Regions from separate parts of the Homo sapiens genome. Here all the other regions are linked to region 2. Evidence: promoter capture Hi-C in 16 types of primary human blood cells and fetal thymus (Javierre and others, 2016). All regions are on one chromosome and are shown on one strand. Each heading gives the region's core, a stretch centred on a gene start or on the middle of the fragment in contact. The rest is flanking DNA. Distances are from core to core; before and after follow the strand shown. Region 1 overlaps AP1S2 (adaptor related protein complex 1 subunit sigma 2). Region 2 holds the start of GRPR (gastrin releasing peptide receptor). Region 3 overlaps ZRSR2 (zinc finger CCCH-type, RNA binding motif and serine/arginine rich 2). Region 4 overlaps ZRSR2 (zinc finger CCCH-type, RNA binding motif and serine/arginine rich 2). Region 5 holds the start of INE2 (inactivation escape 2). Region 6 has its middle 7.0 kb from the start of AP1S2. Region 7 has its middle 3.5 kb from the start of CA5BP1-CA5B.

The links. The method cuts DNA at HindIII sites, captures the fragments that hold promoters and counts their contacts. A CHiCAGO score of 5 or more calls a contact.
Region 1: a fragment that was not itself captured here is called in contact with the fragment with the promoter of GRPR in region 2 in 7 of 17 cell types (total B cells, monocytes, naive B cells and 4 more); the score reaches 9.7 in total B cells.
Region 3: a fragment that was not itself captured here is called in contact with the fragment with the promoter of GRPR in region 2 in 1 of 17 cell types (neutrophils); the score reaches 5.4 in neutrophils.
Region 4: a contact is called between a fragment that was not itself captured here and the fragment with the promoter of GRPR in region 2, in 3 of 17 cell types (M0 macrophages, naive B cells and M1 macrophages). The highest score is 6.2, in M0 macrophages.
Region 5: a fragment that was not itself captured here is called in contact with the fragment with the promoter of GRPR in region 2 in 3 of 17 cell types (M0 macrophages, monocytes and M1 macrophages); the score reaches 7.4 in M0 macrophages.
Region 6: a contact is called between a fragment that was not itself captured here and the fragment with the promoter of GRPR in region 2, in 4 of 17 cell types (total B cells, M0 macrophages, naive B cells and 1 more). The highest score is 6.5, in total B cells.
Region 7: a fragment that was not itself captured here is called in contact with the fragment with the promoter of GRPR in region 2 in 1 of 17 cell types (total B cells); the score reaches 7.1 in total B cells.

Annotation. Positions count from the first base shown.
Region 1 is chrX:15,840,169-15,844,515 of GRCh38, reverse strand. All of the region lies in intron 4 of AP1S2 (adaptor related protein complex 1 subunit sigma 2), which reads left to right. Among named protein-coding and RNA genes, the nearest start is that of AP1S2, 12 kb to the left of the region's middle. The HindIII fragment of the contact is 4,648 bases long and covers 1-4,347 here.
Region 2 is chrX:16,121,332-16,125,106 of GRCh38, reverse strand. It overlaps GRPR (gastrin releasing peptide receptor), which reads right to left and starts at 1,542. Exons shown (of 3, transcript NM_005314.3): 1 at 741-1,542. The coding sequence starts at 1,153. RefSeq lists an enhancer at 1,547-1,841. The HindIII fragment of the contact is 8,500 bases long and covers 1-2,495 here.
Region 3 is chrX:15,821,241-15,825,224 of GRCh38, reverse strand. ZRSR2 (zinc finger CCCH-type, RNA binding motif and serine/arginine rich 2) reads right to left here. Exons shown (of 11, transcript NM_005089.4): 11 at 1,965-2,494. The coding sequence ends at 1,983. Among named protein-coding and RNA genes, the nearest start is that of AP1S2, 32 kb to the left of the region's middle. The HindIII fragment of the contact is 3,614 bases long and covers 525-3,984 here.
Region 4 is chrX:15,800,501-15,804,718 of GRCh38, reverse strand. It overlaps ZRSR2 (zinc finger CCCH-type, RNA binding motif and serine/arginine rich 2), which reads right to left. Exons shown (of 11, transcript NM_005089.4): 4 at 923-1,031; 5 at 522-608. Among named protein-coding and RNA genes, the nearest start is that of ZRSR2, 12 kb to the right of the region's middle. The HindIII fragment of the contact is 3,030 bases long and covers 139-3,168 here.
Region 5 is chrX:15,785,042-15,788,826 of GRCh38, reverse strand. It overlaps CA5B (carbonic anhydrase 5B), which reads right to left. Exons shown (of 8, transcript NM_007220.4): 8 at 416-3,785. It overlaps CA5BP1-CA5B (CA5BP1-CA5B readthrough), which reads right to left. Exons shown (of 12, transcript NR_160544.1): 12 at 416-3,785. It overlaps INE2 (inactivation escape 2), which reads left to right and starts at 1,238. Exons shown (of 1, transcript NR_002725.2): 1 at 1,238-3,111. The HindIII fragment of the contact is 701 bases long and covers 1,665-2,365 here.
Region 6 is chrX:15,859,903-15,863,769 of GRCh38, reverse strand. No RefSeq gene overlaps it. Among named protein-coding and RNA genes, the nearest start is that of AP1S2, 7.0 kb to the right of the region's middle. The HindIII fragment of the contact is 408 bases long and covers 1,677-2,084 here.
Region 7 is chrX:15,669,795-15,674,035 of GRCh38, reverse strand. It overlaps a transcript of CLTRN not described here. Among named protein-coding and RNA genes, the nearest start is that of CA5BP1-CA5B, 3.5 kb to the left of the region's middle. The HindIII fragment of the contact is 2,251 bases long and covers 775-3,025 here.

The DNA of each region.
Region 1 (4,347 bases), core at 1,040-3,539, 280 kb after region 2:
TGAAATGTGTTTTCACTAAAGTAGTTGTTAAGTGTGTGTTTGCATGTATGTAAAAGTCTTGAATATTTTTGGCTCACTGGTTCATTTTCCAGAAGCATTGAAAATATGATTTTGTATTTCCAGTTTATTTTAGTCCCTTCTTTGTTACATACATGTTTATCAGTTTGTTCTTGTCTTTTTTTAGTCACCAAAGGTGACTTTCAGTCCCATTTTTTAGCCTTGGAGGCATTCAGTTTTAAGGGAGTGAAATAAGGGGAGAAGAGTAACTTACTTTCTCCATTTTAACTTCTTAACTCTTGGACTCTGTGAGGAAGGGAAAGCTGTTTGAGAATCTCACTGCATCAGTCACTGACTGGGACAGTTGTGGGGATTGCTTGAAGTTGAGATGACATCATCTGGATAGACATCTACTAAATGTGAGACAATGCATTGTACACTTAATGATCTTGTAGTTATCAGAAGAGTGGTTAAGGTGCCTGCAAAAGTGAAGTATTAGATTGGCAGCCCTGGTGCCATCTACTCTTCAGTAGTGAAATGAACACAGACCTTTTGCCTTGTGTGTACAGTTTGCCACAGTGGTTTACCAATTGATTGGAAATGTTATTCTGGAGGTTTGTTTTTAATATCAGGTGCGCTGACTATAAGCATATACTCTACTGTTGTAAAATTGGTTTTTAAAGTTAGTATCTCCTTATTTTGCTGTTCACTAATCAGACTTTTTTAAAAATTAGGTCAAAACCAGGATTAGAAATTGGGAATTTTTCATATAGGTCTTCCCTTGATCACTTTCATATTTTGTCACAGATCTGTATTCTGCTCTGTCAGAACCTGGCATTTCTTCCAAGTTTTTCTATCATTTTCTGATTAATTACATTGGCTTTAAAATGTATTTAAAGTTATTGAAGTTCAACTTTTAATTTTAATATTTTTCCTGGAGAGTAATTTTTTGTTTGTTTGTTTGAGATGGAGTTTCGCTCTTGTTGCCCAGGCTGGAGTGCAATGACACGATCTTGGCTCACTGCAACCTCTGCCTCCCGGGCTCAAGCGATTCTCCTGCCTCAGCCTCCCGAGTAGCTGGGATTACAGGCTTGCACTACCATGCCTGGCTAGTTTTGTACTTTTAGTAGAGACAGGGTTTCACCATGTTGGTCAGGCTGGTCTCGAACTCCTGACCTCAAATGATCCGTCCCCCTTGGCCTCCCAAAGTGCTGGGATTAAAGGTGTAAGCCACTGCACCCAGCTGTGCCTGGATTTTTAAATGCTACTGGGAAATTGCTATGGGCCTTAGAATATGACAGCAATGTTAAGTTTACCTTAGAGCATATATTCAGTATTTAATGTACTAGGGGATAAGAACATTATTGCAGATCCACATTTATTTGTGTGTGTATATGTACATATGTATATATATTCCCCTATGGGAGTATTTTAATAGTTAATATTGTCCTTCTGTTTGAAGTACTATTTTTATGTCTTTTTTTTTTTTTTTTTGAGATGGAGTTTCGCTTATCACCCAGGCTGGAGTGCAGTGGTGCAATTTCGGCTCTCTGCAACCTCCGCTTCCTGTGTTCAAGCAATCCTCCTGCCTCAGCCTCCCAAGTAGCTGGGACTACAGGTGCACACCACCATGCCCAGCTAATTTTTGTATTTTTAGTAAAGACAGGCTTTCACCATGTTGGCCAGGATGGTCTCAAACTCCTGACAGGTGATCCACCCACCTCGGCCTCCCAAAGTGCTGGGATTACAGGCGTAAGCCACCGCATCCAGCCTATTTTTATGTCTTTAATTGGGGAAAGTAAGTGCAAAGAGAAAAGCATAGGATGAGTATGGTTGGTCCCATGTAAAATTTTCCTTACCCCCTTGTAACCTTTGTTTAAAATAAAGAAATGAGTACTGTTAATTACAGTTCCTTGTCTTTAGAAGAAAGCTGTGGTCCTGTTTCTCTTCTATGACTACTTTTACATTGCTTTGTACACAAACGAAACTGAGTACCACATTGAGACATTGTCTATTTAGCAGTCTGAGTGAACCATTTTTCTTAGCCATGTAGGTCTTGGGGAAGCAGTAGGTGGTGGTCCATTCTGAATTTAGAGTGAGAATACATCGTAGGTTAAGGCCATTATGAAGCCAAGCTCAAGTCTGTGTGGAGCAGTAAGGCTTCAGGTTATTCTGTTCTCTTCATCAACATACTCTGAGAAGAAATGCAGGAATGGCAAGATGCATGTTTCCTAAAAATAGATTCATTTATATTTTTGATGCATGATACAAGTTTACATCTGTGGGAGAGTATTTGAATATTATGTTCATAAAATAGCAAGTGGAATAAGAGAAAAAGCACTCCACAAACTGCTGGAAAACTTTTTGTTTTGGATACCATGACAACAAAAATAATTATGATGGTAACTAACGCTTGAGTGCTTGTATGTGAGGCCCTGGGCTCAGCAGTTTGCTTTAAGCATCCTGTGCTAATCCTCAAGACACCCTGTGAAAGGTTAGAGGTAGCCTAATGAGAAAGTGGAATCTCAGTGAGGTTCCATGACTGGTCTGAGGCCACCTGGTTAGCAACTGGCAAAACCAGGATTCTAAACCCAGATCTACTAGGCTTCACAGCTGTGTAAAATCTTAACCACTGTGCACTTCCCCTAACCCCAGTTATGTATTGTCTTGGTATATATATTTTAAACGTTCTGTTTTAGATATGAACTTCTTTGTTTCTCAGTCATATAGTGAGAAATTCATAATTCTCCCAGAGGTTTTTCTGTGTGGAAAAGAGTAGATTTCCTAAGACAGTGCCATCTTTGACTTCTTAGACTGCAAATTTTTATTGTCCAGATTATCAGCAGTTGGAATTTTTTATTGGATATGTAGATATAAATAATATTTTTCAACCTATTTCTTGTTGGATTGATCAAAATGCCTGGATTTATAATAACTTTTTTGGTCTTATAGTTTGGGGTATAGCATTCACTTAATCAATTTCATGAAATGATTTTGCTTCCAAAATTGTAAATATAGCTGTGAAGATCTAAATTCAGACTTACATTTGTAGTAGAAGTCCTAATTGGTCAATTTTAATCTACTTTTTCATGTGTCATTATTTTTCTGTTTAGTGTCAGGTCTTTTACTTGAATTGATTATTTCTAAGCACCAAAGATGACTTTGAACTTATCATGTACTTATCTGTTGGCTTAAAGGTGTATACACATCTCAATGATTTTGATTTTTTTTTAATTTGTGAAATATACATTTCTATCCTTAAGAATGCTTATTTTCTTCAGAAAAATTAAAAAAAAATTTCTCTTACCCAATTTGTATAAACACATAGTTTAAGGTAGTCCTTCATTTTATAGCCAAATAGGGAAGAGGGTCAGTGGATACAGATTTTCTGTTAGCATATTACAGTTAGTAATAAAAATGTAACATTAAATGTACATTCAAATAATAGTTGCTAAAATATTAGCAGATATTGTGATTAGATAATAAAGATATCTTTTTTATTTTACTTCATTACTTGGTAAATAAAGGATTAGTTTTGACATTTCTAGACCAAACTTCATGTTTATTCCTTTTGGTGTTTGGTTGTATGAATACATAATTAGATTTGGGGGTAAAGCCCAGAAATTGGCCCGTTATCCATTTTTTAATGTTTGGCTGTCTTAACATGCCACTGGTACTAAAGATGATTCTTAAATTATTAAAGTACAACATGCTGAAATTGCTAAATTGATATTCTTTGCAATACTTGGAATACTTTTCCCCACCACCTATTTTAAGCTAGATTTTTGGAGGGATATGGTGGGGGGTGGTGATGTAGTTGGATTTATTTAAACACACACATATATAATGACAAAGGAAATAATAGTATGGCTTTTTTTCTGTAAAGTCAAGCACTTACCAGTTTTTCTCTGCTCCTTAATTTTATAGAGCCAGAATGAAGAATGGGGAGGTTTGTCTGAGGATATCTTATGATAAAGAGCAGTCTAAGGCTTTAGTCCCTTTGATCCCCAACTTATTTATTGGTAACTACTAAATTTACCATTTTTGTGGCATGGATAAAATGGAGTGCTATGCAAATACTGTTGCACGTGAGATGATTTCTAAGTCCTTGCTTGATCCGTGAAGATCAAATAGTTAAATACTGGGCATTTGGGCTTTAACCCTTAGCGGTTGATGCATGATGGTGTTGATTAGTGCTTTGAGATGTGTCAACCTTTCTTTTTTATACTAACAGCATCATTTTGAAATTTGTGGTGTTGTTTTTCTTTTGAGCTTTGTTTGCTGTTGGTATTTTTTCTCACTAAAGTAATCTGTGAAATGCAAAATAAGTGAGGTACCAAAAGCAAGCAT
Region 2 (3,775 bases), core at 293-2,792:
GAATAAAAAACTGTAGTGAACTCCCTCTTCCTCCCCACAATAAGCCCCAAAAGCATGGTATATGAAGTATTGTCAATAAAGATATTAAAATTAGAAATCAACCTTGAATAGAGCTTTCTCCAGAAAATTTTAAAAACTCAAATAATGTTTGATTTCATTTAAGAGAGACTTAGGAAAACCGGCATACAATTGTTCTATCACAGAGAGTCAAATTCAAAATCAGCTGTGAGAAAAGTTAAACTGTCTGAGGAAAATGAATTTCAGAGAAATGAGGCTTATTTTCTCCTCTTGGTTATTTCTGAAAGAACGTTTTGAAGAAATCCAGTGGAACTTTCCTGTTCTCTGAGGGGTTTCAATTGCTCCTAAAAAACATTTGCCTGAGGTTTAAACTCTATTGGGTGTGATTGTCTTTCTCACTGGTCAATTAATTTTGCAAGGAGGGAGAAGTTAGGAAAAGGCAATGCTAAATAGATATGTCTCCAGAAAAAGGCACCTCAGTTTTCTGCTTAGAGATTTTTTTTTTCTCATCTGTCTCCTTCTGTCCCCATCATTCACTTTTCTTTCTTAAACCAATATGTTACACTCAAGAAGTCATACCCAGAATAAAAACCTGCCTGGAAGGGAATCCGTGTTTGAGTAAAACTTCCCTTGTGCAATCAGCTCCCTGTCCCGACATGGTAGTTCATTTACCCAGGCGTCTATCACCCTTGGAGAGCATGTAACTTTCAGCCTGTACTTACCTGTCTGCCGAGAGCGCCGTGAGTGTGAAGACAGACACCCCAACAGAGGTAAGCTGTATAAAGGGGATCAGTTTGCAGCCAATCCTGCCAAATAGCCATCTGTCAGCCAGGTACCTGCTGGCATCCACTGGAGCACACGTTATTAGGAGGAGCAGGTCTCCCAAAGCCAGACTGGAAATGAACAGGTTTGGAACGTTTCGCATGGACTTGACTGTACAGAAGATCTTGATCAAAGTGATGTTGCCAATGAGGCCTATCAGAATGATAACCCCATAAACTGCAGGGATGACATAGAGGATCCCCGGGTGGGACCAGTCATCGTTCACGGGGAGATCCGCACTGTGACTGGAGATGTTGCAGTGCATGAAATGGTCCACCTCCAAGTTCAGAAGGAAACAGTCATTTAGAGCCATCTCTAGATTTTTTTTCCCACCTAAAAGTTCCCTTAGATGCTATTTCTTAACTATTGATTTTGCAACCGAGTGAAGATGAAGATAAGATCTATGCCGGGCTCTTTGCCTTCTTTAATAAAAATACTCTGAGTACATATATACTAACTATGGTATTCAAAACTCTCTGTCACTATTTTGACACTGGTGCTGCTCTGGCTTTCACATGACCAGTGCAATACAACTCTAAATTCAATAAGTTAACAACAACAAAACTTAGCCACAAAAAGGCTTAGAATTAAACCCACTCTGCATCAGTTCTTTCTACCTCCATTCTAGTCTGAGTCTCCCTGGCTGCAGTTTACTAAGAACTTTTGGCCTGCTATTTTCCCACAGCGTCTTTCCTGATATTTAGAATCTGGAGGTTTAAAGTGGGTAGAAAAAAACTGCACTGAGAAATCCTCAAATCCTATAGGCAGGATGCTTTGCACGTCACGGGCTTCACCAGCAAACGGCAGCTCCGCTGAGCTGAGGCTCTGAAGAGGAACCAGTGTTACTTATAGACAGAGAATGCCAGCCCCCTGCTGGACACTTCAATCACTGCCCAGTTGCCTGCTTTCTCCAGATGAGAAGCAACCAGCCGACTGCAGTTCCTACCTAGCTTAACAGATACCTTTGGCTTCTCATGTAAGCACATAGCACCTAGGGTAGGTATTTAATAAATGTTGCTAGCATTCTGCAAAGGCACTGAAAATCTTTCTGATACTATCCCCATGAATCCAGATGGGGATTTACATCCCATTTTCTCATTTTTTCTAATTCATTAGAATGACATGTCAATATTGCTATCAAATGAGGTCTGTCTTTGAATTAAACGCACACTGATGCACAGGGTGTCCATGTGTGAGTTATCCCACTCAGTCTTCCCACTGCCTCTTTGAACAGGGACTGATCCTCAGAAACACATGCACAGACTCACACCTTAAACCTTCAGCAACTGACATCTGGAAAAGCCAGAAGCACAATGCACACATGTTCTTTCCTGTAGATTTGCCAAGCCATTCCTATTCTGTTTACCAGGGAGAAATTAAATTGGGAACCAGCTGTATTCTTAACTCTCAATGATCAATAGTCTTTTCCAGAAAAATGGGTCTTTTCTCATCTGATCTAAAAATTTTATGAATCGGCATTTTGATGCAGCTATTTGCATTTTTAATTGAATGTTTGCCATGTTTTATAGCAAATATCCTCTTTATAGCCCTGTGTGGAAAATAAAGAACTATAAAAGCGTGATAGATACAATACTGAGGAATTGAGTGGGTGGTAAAAGAAGTAAGTTATCGTTGAAGGAGTGCTAGAAAAAGCTTAATTGAGGAAGTGCTATTAGAATCAGGCTTAGACCTTTAGCCAACAACTTCTAAATACATTATTAGAGTGCATCTTTATGACGTATGTGAAGCCAGCTCCTCCAGGTACATGACGTGAAGCCAGTCACTAACAGGTGAAGTCTCATTTTTCAGAACCCATAAGGAATAACAAAACTTGCACTTACCATGCCAGGGCCCACAAAGAAAGCCCCCAACTGTGTTGTTATGGACATTTCCAGTGGCAGGTTCCAACACTGAGGCTGCTGCCATGCTTTCTATGTAAATATGAAAGGCTCAGCGCCCCTCTCTGCCAGCAGGAGGGAGACTGATGCTGCATGGCTAGAGGTGGAAGAGCTTCTCGGCAGAGATCAGTAGCACCAGTAACCAGCCAATAGCCATGAGCCCAGTGGTGTTGATTAGTTGCCAGCAATATAGCTTAATGATACAGTACACAGGCTCTGCTTCAATCCTGGCTCCCTCATTTATAATTATGGCAAGTTACTTAGTGTCTTAAGCTTCAGGTTCCTCATCTGCAGGGTGAGGAGAACTTATGAAGTTAGATGAAATGATTCATGTTAAGATTGCATAGTATTTGGCACATAGTAAGTGCTCAATTAATATTAGCACTTATTATTATTATCATTATTAGATTGAGGGGGAAAGGCTTACTTTGGAAAAGCCCAATGAGTTCAGAAGAGTGATTGACCTCAGATCAATAGGCAAGCACTCATACGAGTGAATTAGCAACTCCTTTATTTACTTGAAAAAAATTTATCAAACATCTACCAGTTGCCAGGCACTGAGCAAGAGGCTGAGAAAAATAGCATGAAGATGTGTACTCTCACAGCTCTTTAGACCCCAACCCCTCTCTGGAGTGAAGCAACTACCTTTTCTCCAGAAAAGACGATATCTTTAAAGGTTAAGTGTTGACAAGGTCTTTTGAATGAAGAAAATCATATGTGCCTAGGATCAAGGCATAAAGGAAAGAGCATGACATTGAGCAGAGGGACATCTATAAATCCAGAGGGTCACCCAGATTGGAAGACAGGGGTGGAAAAAGAACAGCGTGAAATGCAGCTAGAAGCAGGTTTGGGTGAGATTGTGATGGATCTTGTATTCTTGCTAAGAAGTTTGGTCTAAAAGGCATATTTTTGGTTCACAAAGAGAACTTCTGGATGTTGTTTCCCTTTATTTCTTTAGACACCCCTGTGTGCTGAGTCAGCCTCACTACTTAAATCTAATTGGGTGGTTAGTGTTTCTTCCAATGTAAGTTAAGGGG
Region 3 (3,984 bases), core at 1,082-3,581, 300 kb after region 2:
GGTTTTCTTTCTTAGCCTCCATGATTTATTAAGATTTCAGCTTTGCAGACCACATTTAATTGCATATATCTTGACTGTATTTAGAAAAGTATTAAAAAATACTGAATTTAATGATAATTACTCGGCGTTACTGAAATCAGTAGATAGTTCTAGGTCAATCATTTTCAGGGTGAAGCAGGCATTTAGAGTCTGGAACAAATCCAACTTTTTAAAGTGAAATTATCCTGGGCCACATGCATGATTTCTTTTATTGACTACACATGAAAGAACTCTCATCCTTAACAGATATCATGCAGAAATTCCAATTTTGAGGAAACTTTCTTCCTACTTAAATTTCGTTAACGTTTCAGTATTTTACGTATGTTTTAAGTCCTTATTCCCAAATCTCAAATTGAAAAATGTCACATACTCCAAAATTCTAGATCCCAAATATGTCAATGGAAAGAAAGCGACAAAAAATTGATAAAGCTGGAGAGCATCTTATTTATGATCAGAAATCTAGGTATAATATTTTGCCTGAAGCTTTTTCTGCATTAGGTTCTATTCTCTGACCATTCTGTTGAGATTTTTATACCAGGATTGCTTTAACACTAGGCATATTTAGTACCAATGACCCTAATATTCCTGGAAATGACAAAAATAAACTTTACTCCTATATAAAGAACTTTCCAACACACTATTTAAAAAAGTACACGACAGCCCCCAGCTGAAGAGTAGGAGGAAAAAAAATGGACTTTGCCCATCAGTACTTTAAAACTGAGAAAATGAACTTTAAAGCAAAAAAGCTGTTCAGCTATTACATATAGAAAAATCCAATAGATTATTAATAAAAGGCAAACAAGCAGGGCTCACCTGTAGTTTCAGATATTCAGGAGGCTGAGCCAAGAAGATCGCTTGAGCCCAGGAGTTTGAGGCTACAGTGCACAATGATCATGTGAACAGCCACTGCCCTCCAGTCTGGGCAACATAGCAAGACCCTGTCTCTAAAAAAAGGGGTAGGGGGCCAACAAGAATAAAAAAACATTAAATATATGAACACATAAAATTTATCAAATTGGTAAGGATTAAAATTACTTGGCGTTGTGGGAGCAGCAAAGTTTATTGACATAATAAATTTTTTATAGTCTTCTGGCAGGCAACTTGGAAATATTTTAGTATTCATGTCCTTGATACAATTTATCCTAAGGAAATGATCAAAAATATGTGGAAGTATTTAAGAAAATCCATCACAGGATTGATTTCAGCACAGGATTCTTGAATAGTACAAAATTAAAAATCTAACAATGAGGATATGGTTGAAAAAACTGATCCATATTGTGCAGTGAGTAAAACGAAGAATAGGGCTTGATGAAGTATGACTGCTTCTTGTGAATAAAAGCATATTCAACTGCATTCATATGTGTTCTTTGTATTAAAAAATGTGTACATAGGGCTGGGTGTGGTGGATCACACCTATAATCCCAGCGCTTTGGGAAGACAAGGTGGGAGGATCACTTGAGCCCAGGAGTTCAAAACCAGCTTGGGCAACATGGCAAAACGCTGTCTCCACAAAACAATGTTTAAAAATTAGCCAGGTGTGGTGGTGTGTACCTTGTAGTCTCAGCTACTTGGGTGGCTGAGATGGGAAGATCACCTGAGCCCAAGAGTTTGAGGCTGCAGTGAGCTATGATCACGCCACTGCTCGTGAGAACCTATCTCTAAAAAAAAAGAAAAAAGTGTACACACTAAAACAATGCTCCAATGTTTAGTTCTCTCTCAGGGTTAGGATTACAAGTAATTTTCATGTTGTTATTTATGTATTTTATGTTTTCTATACTAACCATACTTCATGATTATAAGAGAATAAAAATATTTTTAAATAGAATTCCAGGCTACACAGGGTTCAGCCAGACTTGCGAACCCATCTGCGTTCATAGCCTTCTATCCGAGTATGTAGCAACCATAATAAATAAGATATACAATCATTTAAGAACAAAACTAGTTTATTTGGATTTGGGACTCTGAACAGTTCTGTCTCTATTACCCGACCTCCTCCTGCCACGACTTCGGGACCTAGAGGAACTTTGGCTCCGGCTGCGGCGGCTCCTGCGGCTCCGGCTCCGGCTCCGGCTCCGGCTGCCCCGGCCCCGGCTGCGGTCCCTGCTGCGGTCCCTATTTCTTCCTCTGCTTCGTGAATTGTGCCTCTCCCGACTCTTTGATGTGCGTTTGTGAGATTTCTTCCCCCTGTGACGACTACTTTTCCTCTCGGATTCCCCATTTCTTTTGTAGGAGTGGTCTGGACTAGGGTTTCTCCTTCCCCGCAGCCTGCTGTAGTAGTCGTCGTGGTGGCCCATCCTCTCCCTCCTTTCGGAGTTCTTCCCAAAGGAGGAGCCAGTCCGATCTGGAGACAAGTAGATGTCTCTATTAGCTTCCCAGAATTCATTGTTGGGATTTCTGAACACATGAAGAAAGTTGCAGTGCTTTCCTCTTGGACATTGTTGTATTTCAAATAAACCTGCAATGGCACAGTGATGAAACAGCACTTATCACTGCATATTCTGAAGATGCTACTTTATCCTTTTCCGAAGGTACATTTCTGATATTTGGATATGCTAGAACTATTTTCTACTGTGTATTATGTAAAAGGGGCTTACATAAATTGATGTCATAATTTGGTTCCCACGATTTCAAACGTGCTCTAATAAATGACACTCTGAAAGGTAACAAATCAGAAGTTTTCATTAAGCAGAATAGCCTGTGCCCCTGTTGGATTATGGTGCAGACTGCAACTGAGCAAATGGTGACCACGTTATCTTCTCCAGGTTTCACCTTCCCACTGATTGACGATTTTGATCCCTGATTAACATCAAATAGCCAGCTCTTTGGGTCCCTGTGGTAGCACGGTTTGATGGCATGGAGGAAACAGGCCAGAACCACTGGTCAAAAGAGAAGGCGTGGCCAGGTGCGGTGGCTCACACCTGTAATCCTAACACTTTGGGAGGCTGAGGCGGGCACAGACCTGAGGTCAGGAGTTTGAGACCAGCCTGGCCAACATGGCGAAACCCCATCTCTACTAAAAATACAAAAATTAGCTGGGCGTGGTGGCAGGCGCTTGTAATCCCAGCTACTCAGGAGGCGGAGGCATGAGAATCACTTAAACCCAGGAGGTGGAGGTTGCAGTGAGCCAAAATTATGCCACTGCACTCCAGCCTGGGCGACAGAGTGAGACTCACTCTCAAAAAAAAAAGAGAAGGCCTATTAAACATAGAGGAGTCTATATTTTCTTTAAACTTTAAGATTATAAACATTACACTAATGCTTCAAATTCACTAAGTGCTTTTAATACAGAAGATTCTTATCACAGATAAAATCTATTCGAACAATTTTGAGATCTTTGGGGTTCTCAAACGTTTTTTAAAAGCAGTAAATTCCCCAGATATGCACAACAGTTAGAAGTGAAATACCTCCGTACCACATACTATATACAAAAATTAAACTGTATCCAAGACCTAAATGTTAAGAAATGAAACTATGACCTTGAAGAAAACATACAAGTAAATCTTTGTGACCCTGGGCTAAGCAATGTCATCCTAGATGTGACACCAAAACAAACAAAAAAATAGTTAAGTTGGATTTCATCAAAATTTACAACTTGTATTTCAAAAGAACATGAAGTGAAAAGAACCTACAAAATGGGAGAAAATATCTGCAAATCATATTTGTGACCAGGTACTTGTATGGAGAATATACCAAGAACTCTTACAACTCAATAATAAAAAGACAAAGAGCCTAGTTAGAAAATAGGCAAAGGATCCAAACAGACATCTCTCCAAAGAAGACATACAAATGGCCAATAATGAAAAGATGCTCAGTGTCTTTAGTCAATAAGGAAAATAAAGTGTTTTTTTTTTTTTAATGAAATAGTCCCCTGCTTTGGAGGAGTCAAGGTCACACTCAGAAGCTCCTCACTGAACTCACACTGGATTCCCAGGAACTGACAAAAGT
Region 4 (4,218 bases), core at 404-2,903, 320 kb after region 2:
TTCTCTTATGACCTAAATAAATGTGGAAACAAAACAAAGTATTATTCTCTAAAGAAGTCAACTCATATACAGCAGAACCTCAGAAGAACATAACTTGCTATAAAGCAAGGGCTAGCTGCCTGTTTTGTAAATAAAGCTTTCCTGGAACACAGCCATACCCATTCATCTACATATTATCGATGGCTGCTTTCAGGGTACACTGGCAGAGTTGGATGTTTGCCACAGAGACCAAACCATAAAGCCTAAAATATTTACCATCTGGCCCTTTACAACATTTGCCAATGCCCAGTATAAAGGGTAAATAGGGTAAAGCTGAAGAAAACTTTAAGGAATCTGCCACTGCACGGACCCGAAGAAGAGCATCAGAAGGGAACTCTGGTGTTATGTCTAAACTGAAATATGATTCTTTCCAAACAAACAATGAAATGACAAGAAAAAGAGAAAAAAAAAACCCAAACTCTGACATGCCTACTGATTATTCTTCAAACTCATCACACAGCACATCCCATGACAGGAATCACCTCTTTTTCTTTCTTCTCCTGTCGTTTCTGCTCCTCCTCTTCTCTCTCTTTCCTCTGCTGTTCTTCCCATTGTTCCTTTAACTTTCTCTTTAAAGGGGAAGAAAAAGTAACTTTGTTTCAGTCACTTTTTAAAAACATTTCACATACAGCGCACATAGATGAAAAACTTAAAACACTGGCAAACTGAATAAGATCAGTTTTTTGTTTTTTTTTTTTAAGTTCAAGATAGGCAACTCTTTTTTTTTTTTCTTTTTGAGATGGAGTTCCGCTCTTGCTGCCCAGGCTGGAGTGCAATGGCGTGATCTCAGCTCACTCCAACCTCCCAAGATAGGCAACTCTTCATGAGAGTTATTATGGTGAAGTAATCAGTTTGTTCACTAGTTACGTGATTCCTACCATACCTCTTGTTCTTCTTGCCGTTTTTTAGCCGCCTCTTCCTTTTCCTTCTTTATTCTGAATTCTTCTTGTGCCTTCTGCTCTCTTAGCAACCACTCCTCATGTAATCTTTGCCTATCAGTATAATGATGTAATCAGATAAAAGAAATGGGCATTAATCCACAAATACACACACACACGAGAGCAAAATGACACATTTTGGGACTGATTCAAATATCACGAAAGCTATTTTCTATTAAAGCAGTCAAGTGGGTGTAAGAGAACGAGAAGAGCAGAGCTTTTGGAAAAGCACCACGTGTCAGCAACTATCTTCCTAATGGGTAATAACTTAAAATCTCTCTTACATTTCATAGGTATATATGGCTGTGACATACTTTACAGAAAAAAGGACACTATGACTTTCCCTCTAGACTGATCACAGTGATGTTTAGGTGACAATAAAATGGGTAGCAAGTTTCAAAGCAGCATCTACCTTTTCATATTCAGAAAGCATTTCCCTTCCTATTCTATGCATTTATTTTTATTTATTTATTTATTTTGAGACAGAGTATTACTCTGTTGCCCAGGCTGGAGTGCAGTGGCATGATCTTGGCTCACTGCAACCTCTGCCTCCCGGGTTCAAGTGATTCTCCTGCCTCAGCCTCCCGAGTAGCTGGGATTACAGGTGCCCACCACCACGCAAGGCTAATTTTTGTATTTTTAGTACAGACAGCGTTTCATCATGTTGGCCAGGCTGGTCTCGAACTCCTGACCTCAAGTGATCCACCTGCCTCGGCCTCCCAAAGTGCTGGGATTACATGTGTGAGCCACTGCACCCAGCCCCTATTCTTAAAAGTAGCAATTCCATGATGGCAGCACGCTGAAAACCCAGTATCCTTTGCCATAAACCTTTGGACTACTACTACACACAGTTAAGAGACTCCTGTGGTTTGCCTCCAAACACCTAAACAGCCAAAAGAAGGAAAATAAAAGTACATTGTAATCATGTTTTTAAAATAAAGCTACAGGTTTTAAGAAATGGAGTTATAAAAATAAATTAGTGAGGGCCGGGCGCAATGGCTCGCACCTGTAATCCAGCACTTTGGGAGGCTGAGGCGGGCGGATCACCTGAGGTCAGGAATTTGAGACCAGGCTGGCCAACATGGTGAACCCCATCTCTACTAAAAATACAAAAATTAGCCAGGCGTGGTGGCAGCCGCCTATAATCCCAGCTACTTGGGAGGCTGAGGCAGGAGAATCGCTTGAATCTGGGAGGCGGAGTTTGCAATGAGCCGAGATCATGCCACTGCACTCCAGCCTGGGTGACAGAGCGAGACTTCGTCTCAAAAAATGAAAAAATAAAAATAAATTAGTGAGTGTCTAGTCTATTTTTTATATGACCAATTATAATGAGTGGTATTACCTTAAAGTGGCAAGTGTCTCAGACATCCAATATCACAAATTTCTAATATAAAGAGGGGGTTAGATTGCCAAAGTCTACCTGCCAATTAGGTGTGTAGAACCTCAAATTCATTCTTCCACTGAATTTATAAAAGGGAAATTAAATATGAGAAACTGTTCTATATTACTTCAGCAGTATTAGGAGTTCAGTAAAGTTTTATGTCTAGTCTGGGGACCTAACCACAATTTTAAATAAAATATATTACATTTCCAAATACAGATTCCAGGAACACATCTTTTAGCCATGGCAGAGGCTGGCACATTGCATCTATCAGTGTTCCTATGCCATGTGTGAGGGTACCATATAGATGTTTCAGTGGGCACAACTCTGATTTACAAATCTTTTGAAAAACATATAATTGTATATAAATGAACCAAATGATATATAAATTAAGACCACAAGAAAGTAAAATGTTAAAAATTTTAAAATTTAATAACTTGAATATACATCTGCTTTGAAATAGGACATAAAGTCATACAGTATTTTTACATAATTTTCTTGCTTTTCAATAATAGTATGCAACTCATAAAGAAATAAAGATCTAAGGAGCACAAAGATACATGTATGTGATTTAAAAGAAGCATTTCAAATAAACAGGAAAAAAATTACTCTCTTATTTCATACCGTATCTATTGTCTTCATCATAACAGAAATCTATAATAATAAGAACTAGAGCTATCACAGCACCTCTCATCTGCTGACACTGTGTTAAACACTATACATCCATCACCTCCTTTAATCTTCACAATTCTGTGAGGTGGATACTGTGATTGACTTTATCTCCATATTACAGACAAGGAAATAGAAGCTTAGAGACATTAAGAAATTTCGGCTGAGCGCGGTGGCTCACACCTGTAATCTCAGCACTTTGTGAGGCCGAGGCGGGCAGATCATGAGGTCAAGAGATCGAGACCATCCTGGCCAACATGGTGAAACCCCATCTCTACTAAAAGTACAAAAAAAAATTAACTGGGTGTGGCGGTGCGTGCCTGTAATCCCGGCTACTCGGGAGGCTGAGGCAGGAGAATCGTGTGAACCTGGGAGGTGGAGGTTGCGGTGAGCGGAGATCACACCACTGCACTCCAGCCTGGTGACAGAACGAGAGTCCGTCTCAAACAAAACAAAACAAAAACAAATTTTAAAAAAACATGTATCCCAAAAGAGAAAGGTGTGAGACTTGAGCAATCTACAAATAGGTAATAAAACATATAAAAAGATACTCTACCTAATTCAGAAATGTGCATTTGAAACAGTTTCATTATAGTTTTATAAACTGATAATGCCTAGTATGAGTGAAGGTATGGGGAGATGGGCCCCTACATTCACTGCCAGAAGGGCTGCAAACTGCAAACCAGGAAGCCCTTTCTACCTGGCCATCTACATTTTACATGGACTTATGATTTGATTCCAACAATCTCATTTTTAGTCATGTTCTTAAGGAAATAACTGGACAATTACCAAGGATATATAAGCATGGATGCTTACTGCAACTTTTTACATATGAGTGAAAAACCAATATAACCTGAAAGTCCATCAGTAGAGAACTATAAATTATAAATGAATAAACTATGAATAGCAAATAAATTATGCTACATCTGTACAGTGGGTACTGTATTGCCACTGAAATGGCTGAATTAGATCCCTGCATCAGTACTGAAATAAATGCACTATATATTTAGCAAGAAAGCAATTTATAGAAAAATATGTATAAATATCATGCCATTATAGAAAGACACACGTAAAGTACATTTACACTTTCTTTTTCTCTTTCTTAACAGTGGCTATCTTTGGGTGTGTTGCAATTATTAAAGTCTTTTCCCTTTTTACATTTGTTAATTTTTTTTGTTTTTTTTCTGTTTT
Region 5 (3,785 bases), core at 766-3,265, 340 kb after region 2:
TCAGACTGTAATGTACACATACAAGGCCAGGGACAAGGCCAAGCAAAAAATGTTCCTCACAAGGATGCATTACAGCTGTAAAATGACTAATAACCTCTATCTTTTGAGTGATTGAATAGCTTCCTTGGCCTACCTTTGTTCCGTTCTCCTCCAAATTAAAGTTTCTGAGATACTCAATTACTAAACTGCCTTCCTTCCCCTAATCCCTCCTTAGAATTACTCAGCTGAAGCCCAAACTCTGCATAAAACCTCACCCTAATCTCTCTTATACTGACACACTTGGAGCAACACATATGCCCTTCACCCCCAAGTTGACCTTGTCCAGCTCAGTGCATTGGTTGGCTGTGATCTTGAGTAAATTCCTTAATGTCTACTCCTGTTTTCTCATTTGTAAAAATCAAGATAGTAATAATAGTTCCCATCTCATAACCCTTTTATTGTGAAAACTGAGTAAGATAAGCCATGTTATATGCTGATACAGTGCCTAGCAATAGTGAATGCCTCCAAAACTTTAGCTGTTACATCATCTCATCACCATCATCATTAGTGTGAAAACTTCCTGACCCCTCAAGAGGGGATGAGGCGCTGTATGCATTTCCAGTACAAGTATTCCACCTTTTATAACATCTATCATGGTTTACTACACATTGTCACCTTTACCTTTCTGCTTCTTGACTAAATCTTAAACTAAACTCTCTAGTTGGAGGTTTGGCAGTTGTATCCCCAAACTAGAGTGCCCTGGATGGCACAGAATGTTGTAGCTATGCAACTCACCAATTTTGCTGGTCCCTGTGATCAGAATTTACGCTGAGAATTGCTGCCCGTTCTGAAAGCATCAGTGTTTAAGTTGTTGTAACATTTCTTCTGAATCAGACCAGACTTTCACTTCAGAACAATAAGTAACAATTCCTTCTAAGAAATCTCGGCTCACTGCAACCTCCGCCTCCTGGGCTCAAGCGATTCTTCTGCCTCAGCCTCCTGCGTAGCTGGGATTACAGGTGCATGCCACAACCACCTGGCTAATTTTTGTATTTTTTAGTAGAGACGGGGTTTCACCATATTGGCCAGGCTGTTCTCGAACTCTTGACCTCCGGTAATCTGCCCGCCTCGGCCTCCCAAAATGCTGGGATTACAGGCATGAGCCACCGCACCCGGCCATAGATTTTTTAGTGAGTTAGAAATGAATGTAAATTTCCTTTTATAGGAGTTAGACATTTATTTTTAACAATTAACCACTGAATTCATTTTCAGAAATAGGCCTGAATTGCTTGTTAATTTCATTACAGGAAGTAACTCTAAAAGCCAATTCCACTTCCAAACTATAATTACCATCATCTGAATTTAACAGGGAAAGACATCTTCCAAGACTTCTTTTGGGCGGATGCTTAGTTTTAGAATAGCCAACTTTACCCTAACCCATGTACAAGACAGTTCTCCAGGTGGCCTTGGACTGACCCAGTTCTCCCTTCTTCCTTGCTTGTAGTTCTTAAGAATAACTGTAGAATGCACTGGGAATGCAATATCCTGATATGGAGGAACTGCCTGAAACAGGTTGGCCTTGTTGTTGTCCCTCCTAGGGAATGTAACATCTTGATTTAGGGAACTGTTTGAGACAGCGAGGTTGTGTTCCTCTTTCCCCTGGAAGGAGGATGTACTTTAAAGCTTTGCCCAATGAGTTATGTGGCTCCTATGGTATATAACCCAAGGCAGGCTGTGGTGCAAGTGGGGCACGTACAATCAAGACTCCATCAGCCCCGCCCTGGGCAGCTTTCTTGAGCCCTGGGGGACTGGCTCACAATGGAGCCAGGGCCTCTTTTGTCCCTTGCTTCCTGTCTGTAAGTAATAAATCTGCTTCATGTAATGTATTGGGTGTGAGTGTGTTCTGTCACAATGGAATCAGACAGGTTGGTAACCAGTGTACACTGAACCTGCTTGGCACCATGTAGCCCTGGGAAAGGAGAAAGGCGGTCACAGCTTGCCCTATATGGTGATGCCAGCACACTGTGCACTGTACTGTGCAACAGAAAAAGGTGCACTGAGGAGGATCGGCTGCTTCTTCCCATTGTTGCTTCTTTAGTAAATCCCCTATGAGTTTTTAGTCGCTTTCTAATCTACAAGTTAAAGGATATCTCATTAATTTTACAGATATATACATATACTGTAACAATAGGAAGGAAGTCTTTCACCAACCACTAATACTGTAAAGAAAGCATTGTATCGATCTAGTATTATTTAATGAAGACGGACAGCAATTTTAATACAATCTTCTTTTCCAAGACCTTTGACAGACCTTAGGCCCATTTTCCACCTTTATGTCTAGGAAAGTATAAGTAAAACACTTTTGAGGGCATAAAAAACACAAGCTTCTTGTTAAGGTGTATCAGTAGCCAGGGAAATCTGCTGTGCCCCTTTGAGGGTCATCTAACTAAGGCATGGAGAAAGAAACTGCCTCAAGTCAGTTTCTATCACCTCTGCAGGGAAGCTGGCCATGCAAACCAGGACATGGTTCAAAGTGAAAAAGAGTGTGGTTAATAATCATGCCAGAACACCAGGTATAAGATGTAAGGGCAAGTCAGGCATTCTGTACATTGCTTCTCCCTTCAGTTTGGAAAACTCACTGCAGTAGGGTTTTGACTTATCGTTTCACAAGACAGCTAGGAAGGCCAGGCACAGTGGCTCACACCTGTAATCCCAGCACTTTGGGAGGCCAAGACGGGTGGATCACGAGGTCAGATCGAGACCATCCTGGTTAACACGGTGAAACCCTGTCTCTACTTAAAATACAAAAAATAGCCGGGTGTGGTGGCGGGCGCCTGTAGTCCCAGCTACTCAGGAGGCTGAGGCAGGAGAATGGCGTGAACCCGGGAGGCGGAGCTTGCAGTGAGCCGAGATCGCGCCACTGCACTCCAGCCCGGGTGACAGCGCGACTCTGTCTCAAAAAAATAAAAAAAATAAAAAAAAATAAAAAACAAGACAGCTAGGAGGAAAGCCTGTATGCTTTGGAAAATGCATATCTTGTGTGTTTACCCTTTTAAAGGTAACTATACTTTGAAACAGGTGAACTGCAGAAAGTTAACAAAGACTTCTTTTTTTACCATGTTTACCTTTCTAAGAATTCTATGCATTTCCTAGGGCATACATGCAAAAGCCTTCACATTTCCCCCTTTTTAAAAGAGATATTTCTCAAACTTATACGTATACAGTTCAGTAGTGTTAAGTACAATCACACTTGTTTTGCAACAGATCTCTAGAATTCTTGCAACACAAGCTCTGTACCCACTAAATACAAATTCACCCTCTCCCCTTCCCCCAACCGTTGCTTGGCAACCACCTTTCTACTTTCTATTGTATGATTTTGACTACTTTGCATACTTCACATGGAGGAATCATATAGCATTTGTTCTTTTGTTGGCTGGCTTATTTCACTTGGCATAATGCCTTCAAGGTTCATCCACATTGTACATTTGACAGGATTTCCTTCTTTTTAAAGGCTGAATAATATTCCATTGACTGTATATACCACATTTCCTTTATCTATTCATCTGTTGATGGACATTTGGGATGCTTCCAGAACCTCTTGGCTATTGTGAATAATGCTGCTATGAACATGGGTGTACAAATATCTCTTTGAGATCCCGCTTTGGTGGTAATTCTTATGGTAATTCTGTTTTCAGTTATTTGGGAAACCTGTGTACTGTTTTCCGTAATGACTGCACCGTTTTACATTACCACCAACAGTGCACAAGGGTTTCAACTTCTCTGCATCCTCCCCAATACTTGTTATT
Region 6 (3,867 bases), core at 631-3,130, 260 kb after region 2:
TCTCTGCAGACTCATCTTTACCCAGGAACCCTCTGACCACACTAACCTTCCATTCAGGTACCTAAGACATGAACCCATCTCTTTGTCTTGGCAAATGTCATTCTCCCTATATGGAACATTCTTGCCCTGTCTTCTCTTGACTGTCTCCCCCATTCTTTTCCGATCTTGGCCTAAGGGCTTTGTCCTCCAAGAAACATTGTCTGACCCTACCACCCATCACTACCACAAAAACTCTGGGCTAGGCACTGTCCTGTGTGTTCCCACAGGTCCCTGGCCTTCCTACTTTGAAACATTGTACCGTTTGAAACTTCCTAGTTTGAAGCATTGTACTGCATTGTACTGGGATTGCTGATTATATACTGTGCCATCCATCTTGTTCCCATTATACCTTAAGAACCTGGTGAAAGGTTCCATGTCTAAGTTGTGTTCTATTTTACCCCCAGTTCTCAGTGAGTACCTGGCACAGGTGTGCAAATTGAATGAAGTAATAAAGAAGGTGAAGCATTTTAAGCAGAAGGTTTAATCTCTATTGGATTTATGTTTTAGAAAAGCATGTGGCCATGTGCAGAAAGAACCATAATGGAATCAGGTGGAGAGAATGAGCTGAGATATAAAGTCCAGTTTGTTAGTCTGACCTAGTGCAATATTAATGGGGATGGAAAGAAGGAGAATACTCCAGAAAAACTGATACACTCAAGAAGTAATGAGACAGGGCCCAATTAAACCTTTTTTTTGGGGGGGGTGGGGAAGGAGTTTCATTCTTGTTGCACAGGCTGGAGTGCAGTGGTGCGGTCTCGGCTCACTGCAACCTCCAACTCCTGGGTTCAAGTGATTCCCCTGCCTCAGCCTCCTGTGTAGCTGAGATTACAAGCATGCAGCATCACGCCTAGCTAATTTTTTGTGTGTGTGTTTTTATAGTAGAGACAGGGTTTCACCATGTTGGCCAGGCTGGTCTCGAACTTCTGACCTCAGGTGATCCGCCTGCCTCGGCATCCCAAAGTGCTGGGATTATAGGCGTGAGCCATTGCCCTCAGCCTAAACCTTCTTTTGGCACCACAATTCAACTTAATTAACATTTTAGAGTACTTACTCTATGCAAAGCATTGCATTAGGTTATGCCATAAAGCAGTTATTAAGATATTATCCCAGTTTTGGAGATTGCAAGGATTTCAGTCAGCTAGTAAAGACATAAATACTTTAATACTGGACAGAAAGGCAAAAGGAAGTAGAATTGAAGAGTTTACATTTCAAGGGTAAGGTTTTTCAGTTTATTTATTTATTTGTTTGTTTTTGCCTAAAGATAATGGGCTAGTAGTTTCTGGGCAATAGACAGTGTCCTGTGGTGGCAAGAACATTGCCTGGAGACAGAACATAGGAGTCTTACTTCTCCACTTGCCACTAACTGGTATGATCTTGAACAATTTGCTTAACTTCTCTGGACTTCATTCTTCACTTGTAAAATAAAATTCTTGAATAAAATTACCTTTAAAATTCTATTATCTTATATATGTGTTATATTTAAAATGTGTACAGTATTTCTAAAATTTTTCATCAAATTATCTAATTAAAATGTTCCTGTATTCTAAATAGTGCTTTAGGATAAATATTTTAACTTAGCTTTTTGTATAGTATTTAGAAGACAAGGATATAATAGAGTCAAAAATAAATCTCAAGCTTTGGTTTTTTGATTCTAAGAGGTTGATGATAATACTGTATTCACTTTTGCCAATTAGGGACAGTTTACCCAAATGTGCTTGCCCACCACCCCACTTCACTTCCTCAGCCCTTTCAGCCTTACGATTTTTTAAATTTTGCCTTTTCTATTGCCTAGTATTAATGCTAGGCTTTGTCAGAGGAATGTAAAAAAGAGCCTTAAATCATTCTTTTTGCCCTCTTTGATAGACAAGTAGTTTAAAATTCTGTGCTCAGACTGTTTAACAATTCTTCTCAAATTTCAATGGAAGGGAGACATATAAAAGAGCACAAAAAGCAGGATTAGAATCAAGTATCCACTTGAAAATTCACTTGCTCTTCCCATCACTATGCATGGCTCCTTCTCTTTGTAACTAAGTATGCAACAAGCTTTCAAGAATGAACAGGAATGCTTGCAGCTGTAACAAATGAACCTGGGAAAAAAAATCAGTGGCTTAATACAAAGTTATTTCTCATTCATTTCAAGTACAATAGGAGTGATGATGGTGGTAGTGGTTTGTGTACGTCTCTTCCTTGCAGTCATTCAGGAACTCAGGCTGGCAGGATACCTGGGTGTCATCATCCAAGTGGCAAAAGCAGGTCTGGGGAGGGAAGGAGGGAAGAAGGAAACAGACTTTCCTGTGGGAGCTTTTTATAGGCTAGACCTGTCACTTTTATTCCTATTTCATTGGCCAGATCTCAGCTCCATGGGCACACCTAACTACAGAGGAAGCAGCGGAATGAGGTCTAGCTGTGTGCTAAGGAAGAGAACGGGCAGGTTTTGATTACTACTTAGCGGTCTCTGGTCTCTGCCTTACCCCTGGGACACATTGATTCTGTCTAGCTGTTCCCTCTGGACTTCTTCCTTTCTACCCCATGTCTTTAATTGCTGACAAAGTATTTCAGAGGTGACTCCTACTTGCCATGAGTAGTTGGGAAATATTTTTAAGGTAGTGATTTTCATCAAGTAAGCATCTGACTTTTATGATGCAACCTTCGAGTTTCCCTAAGCACTTCAGTTTCTGCCTTAGAATATTATAGCTGGGAAAACTGGCTAGCCATATGTAGAAAGCTGAAACTGGATCCCTTCCTCACACCTTATACAAAAATTAATTCAAGATGGACTAAAGACTTAAATGTTAGACCTAAACCCATAAAAACCTTAGAAGAAAACCTAGGCAATACCATTCAGGACATAGGCATGGGCAAGGACTTCATGTCTAAAACACCAAAAGCAATGGCAACAAAAGCCAAAATTGACAAATGGGATCTAATTAAACTAAAGAGCTTCTGCATAGCAAAAGAAACTACCATCAGAGTGAACAGGCAACCTACAGAATGGGAGAAAATTTTTGCAATTTACTCATCTGACAAAGGGCTAATATCCAGAATCTAGGAAGAACTCAAACAAATTTACAAGAAAAAAACAAACAACCCCATCAAAAAGTGGGCAAAGGATATGAACAGACACTTCTCAAAAGAAGACATCTATGCAGCCAACAGACACATGAAAAAATGCTCATCATCACTGGCCATCAGAGAAATGCAAATCAAAACCACAATGAGATACCATCTCACACCAGTTAGAATGGCGATCATTAAAAAGTCAGGAAACAACAGGTGCTGGAGAGGATGTGGAGAAATAGGAACACTTTTACACTGTTGGTGGGACTGTAAACTAGTTCAACCATTGTAGAAGACAGTGTGGCAATTCCTCAAGGATCTAGAACTAGAAATACCATTTGACCCAGCCATCCCATTACTGGGTATATACCCAAAGGATTATAAATCATGCTGCTATAAAGACACATGCACACGTATGTTTATTGCGGCACTATTCACAATAGCAAAGACTTGGAACCAACCCAAATGTCCATCAGTGATAGACTGGATTAAGAAAATGTGGCACGTATACACCATGGAATACTATGCAGCCATAAAAAAGGACGAGTTCATGTCCTTTGTAGGGACATGGATGAAGCTGGAAACCATGATTCTCAGCAGACTATTGCAAGGACAAAAAACCAAACACTGCATGTTCTCACTCACAGGTGGGAATTGAACAATGAGAACACATGGACACAGGAAGGGGAACATCACACACCGGGGCCTGTCATGGGGTGGGGGGAGGGGGAGGGATAGCATTAGGAGATATACCTAATGTAAATGATGAGT
Region 7 (4,241 bases), core at 651-3,150, 450 kb after region 2:
TTTAGATGGCACAAGAATTGAGAAAATTAAAGATGGTGTAATAAAGGAGTTGATAGGTGGAAAAGGACTTGATAAGTGCTGGTTTGTTGTTCTAATTAGCAGGAGTATTTTGGGGCAGCAAACATAGGAAGCCACTTACATAGCAGTTAGTACAGCTCCCTTCACAATAAATTCTCAATCTTCATTTAAAGTATTCCCTTTTCACTTGTATAGAGGATTACAATTTTTCCCTCCATGGCAGTGAGATTTACTATATACACTTCTACATATGCCAGTAATCAAGATTTTATGATCACATATAAAGTGTAAAAGTTCCTTTCTCTTCCCACCTTCCATCCATTTCTGCTTTGAAGACAGTGGGAACTTTCACAATATTGAGCTACAAGGAGCACAGAGTAAAAGACAATTTTCAACAAAACATTTTTTATTAAGCTCACCCTGGCTCTGAGAACTCTATCTCATTTATATAAAATGTTGCCAATGCTAATCATTTTTTGCATGAAAAATTAAACACACCGGAAATGGGATCAAGTGCAGCCTGTGTAAATTACTGCATTGATTTTTATAGCATTATTTTCTCCCAGATGATTTGAGGCCGCGTACCAAAATATAGGCAACACTGTATAAAGTAAGTATTATAGTTTAAGGAACCAGAGGGGAAATTCATGGAGGGAGAATAAATAATGTAGCCAATGGTAAGATTAACACTCAAGTATGCACACTTTCAGATCCAGAACAGTTTTTGAAGGTGGGCAAGAGATCTCACTCTAAGCTTCCATAGAAAACAGGAGATAACAAGTATTTTAAAGTTTTACGGTGTTCATAAAAACCAATCAATCAGGATTTTGTTTGCTTTTGAGAAGCACTGTTTGTTTTTTTAAAAATAATTTTTAGCCCCAAGGCAAATCCCAGTTCCTCATCATGATGACGCTGTGAGCTACGTGGGAAATAAGTGTCATAAGTTGTTACACCCACATTCCCTCAATGGAAACTGTTGGCATAATCACAAAGCACAGGGCACTGAATCAATTTCATGAACCATCCAAAATTTCCTGTTCGACTGAGTACACAGCCCCACAATGGTCTGGTTTAATTCAGGGTAGCATTTAGATAATCTTTCCCCATAATGGCACATAAGTTTCAACTCACATGTCAACTCCCATTTATTCATATTAGTGGACTGAATAGCTCAGTTGGGGTGGCTGAGTCCATGCACAGAAGGAAAAAGTTCTGAAATAGATAAAAAATGTTTGTCATGGGTGTGGGATGAGCAAATGGCTGCAAACAACCTGTCATCTCTGATTTGTAGTAATAGGGATCTCTTGTGCACATCTTTTAGGCAGTCCACAAAAACATTTCTCATAAGACTTTTGATGAATTTCAGACAGTAGAGGGTTCAGGGTCATCACTGGCCGAAACGTAGGATCAGAAATTCTGAGATATTGATTAATTCATATGTCTTTAATATTAATGAGAGCATATAACCTAAAAGTTATGTGGTCTGATCCCGCCCCCGCCCCCACACCCTTTATAGAGGTTGGCAAAAGAAGTACCTGTTGTCAGGGCTAAATGTGACTAGGTGACCTCCAACTGGTGGGCAAATTGATGATTAAGGATGGAAAATACTATTTCATAGACCATGGCTGCAATACTGTTAGCCTAGTAAAAAGAGAAAATTGACTTGCCAAATCATGAGAAAACTCTTACACCTGAGCAACAGTGGAACCAGCTAAACCTGTAAAAGAAATGTCTTGCTTTAACTACATGAGACCCATTATAAAGCATTGGTCTCCATGCACAAGATGAAACACACAGACACACATACTTTTTTTTTCCCATTTAAGAAACTGTCCTTTAAATTGCTACTTTAGGAGCATAAAGTTGGCAGAATTACACTCACTCAGTTGATCTGAATTAATTTTTATTTCCAAACGGTAGTGATTAACTTTCTCTGAAGTAGAAAAATGTTAACTTGTGAAGAATAAGACAAAGTTCATAATGATTATGGCTACTGATTAACCTACAAAATTTGATGAGCTTTTCAAATATCCTTGCTTAATATGATTTCTCATCTTAAAAAGGGGATATATGTGATGGAGACAAAAATATTCCACATTATAGAGTTTCTTGCTTACCAAGGATACTGGAAATTGTGTGTGTGTGTGTGTGTGTGTGTGTGTGTGTGTGTGTGCGCGCATAAAATTAAGCATACCAAAAGATTGTAACATCATCTGTTCTATATTCTAAAATTATTATTAAAATAAGCTCATTTATCTTTTTATTAAGATGGCCAATGAAAAATAATTTCCTGTTTTTTGTAGTCATGGGCACGTAGTGGGCTGCCAGTCCAACAGCCTGTGATTAGTAAATAAAGGGCACATTGGAAACTCACTGTCAGGGAATGTCCTTCCCATCTCCCATTGTCCTTCTCTGTGTCATTTACAATGAACCCATTCCCACATTGAAATCTTCATTAGCCTCTCAGGACCATTGTTGGAGAATCCAGACTCTCTGACCTCTAAGATCAGAACCCAACTTGGCTTTTCAGATGCATCTACACTGATGCTCTCTCCCCCATCTTCCTCTGAACCACTCTACCAGCAAGTCCCTGCTGTTGGCCATATCCTGTATCTGTCCTTTGTGTTTGTTTTCAGATTTCCTTAACTTGTATCCTGTGGGCTTTCATGTTTTATCTTTAAACATCTTGCCATTGTTCCAGGTCTATCTTGATTATCATTGAGAAACCTTTCTTCTATTTTTCTTTTGTTAACAGTTTTATAATTGACTTGTCAAATCCAGTAACTTTTTATCCTCTTTTTCTCCAGTGTTCCTATAGCATTTTGTTCACAATTGTATGTGCATCTATTGCCATCGTGATTTACTTTTGTGTCCTACAAAATTGTAAGTTCCTGAAGGGCAGAGACTATATTTGGTTCATTTTTGCATTTCTCGTAGCCCATGAATATGATAGTTTAAGAAAACTGAGTTGACTAATTTGAATCATAAACTGAAGTTCTAATAAGCTTGTGACTGGAAATTAAGTACCATGAAATGCATTGCAATGTATATATTTTTACATTCTTAGCCTTAGAGAAACCACACACACACACACACACACACACACACACACACACACACACACACACACACACACACTTGTCTCCCTTTTTTCTTCTGTTCTTCCTTGTGTGGGTTATTTCCATTAACTCAACTACAAGAAGAAAAGAGTTACCTAAATGACATTTTTAAAGTTTGTGGGGGTGTTTTGCAGCATCCCTGGCCTCTACCCACTAGATGCCAGTAGAATCCTCTCATCTGCCATTCATGATGACTAAAAATGTCACCAGACGTTGCCAAGTGTCTCTGGAGCACAAAATCACCCCCAATTGAAAACCACTGAGTTAAAATAGAACTTACACACAATAGACAAAAATACTTTGTCTCTCCATGTATCTTAACACTGACAATTTAAAGAGAATAAAATTATTTTTGTTGCCTAATTATACTGAAAACATTGTATAAATTATTAATAATACAAACATCTTGATATTGTTTATTATATATAGTATATCCATTTCATTACAATTTAAACAAGGAAGGATGTCATTTATTAAAATTCTACAACATTTAGGAAATCATTGAGTAGAGCCATTTAATTAAGATATTAAAACTTCCAAAGGGGTTTGTGTGTGTGTGTGTGTGTGTGTGTGTGTGTGTGTGTGTGTGTTTTGTTTTTGGTTTTTGTTTTTTTTATTTTTTGAGACAGAGTCTCGCTCTGTCACACAGACTGGAGTGTGGTGGCACAATCATGGCTCACTGCAGCCTCAACCTCCCTGGGCTCAGGTGATCCTCCTGCCTCAGCCTTCCAAGTTGCTGGGACCACAGGTGCATGCCACCAAGCCTGGCTAATTTTTGTACTTTTTGTAGAGAGGGGGTTTCGCCATGTTGTCCAGGCCTGTCTTGAACTCTTGGACTCAAGCAATCTGCTTGCCTCGCCCTCCCAAAGTGCTGGGATTACAGGCATGAGCCACCATGCCCAGCAGCAAAAAGTGTGAAGTTTTAAAATCTTATACAAAGTTTCTATGTTCAATTATTAAAAGTTTTAATTGATTTCTTTTAATGTGTCACAGCCAGATAACATTTCTGAAAATCCAATAAAAATATACAGAATAATGTCACATTTGAGATGGTTTTACAGTTTACTAATTTTAGGAGCTATATATTTACTAAATTTCTGTTTT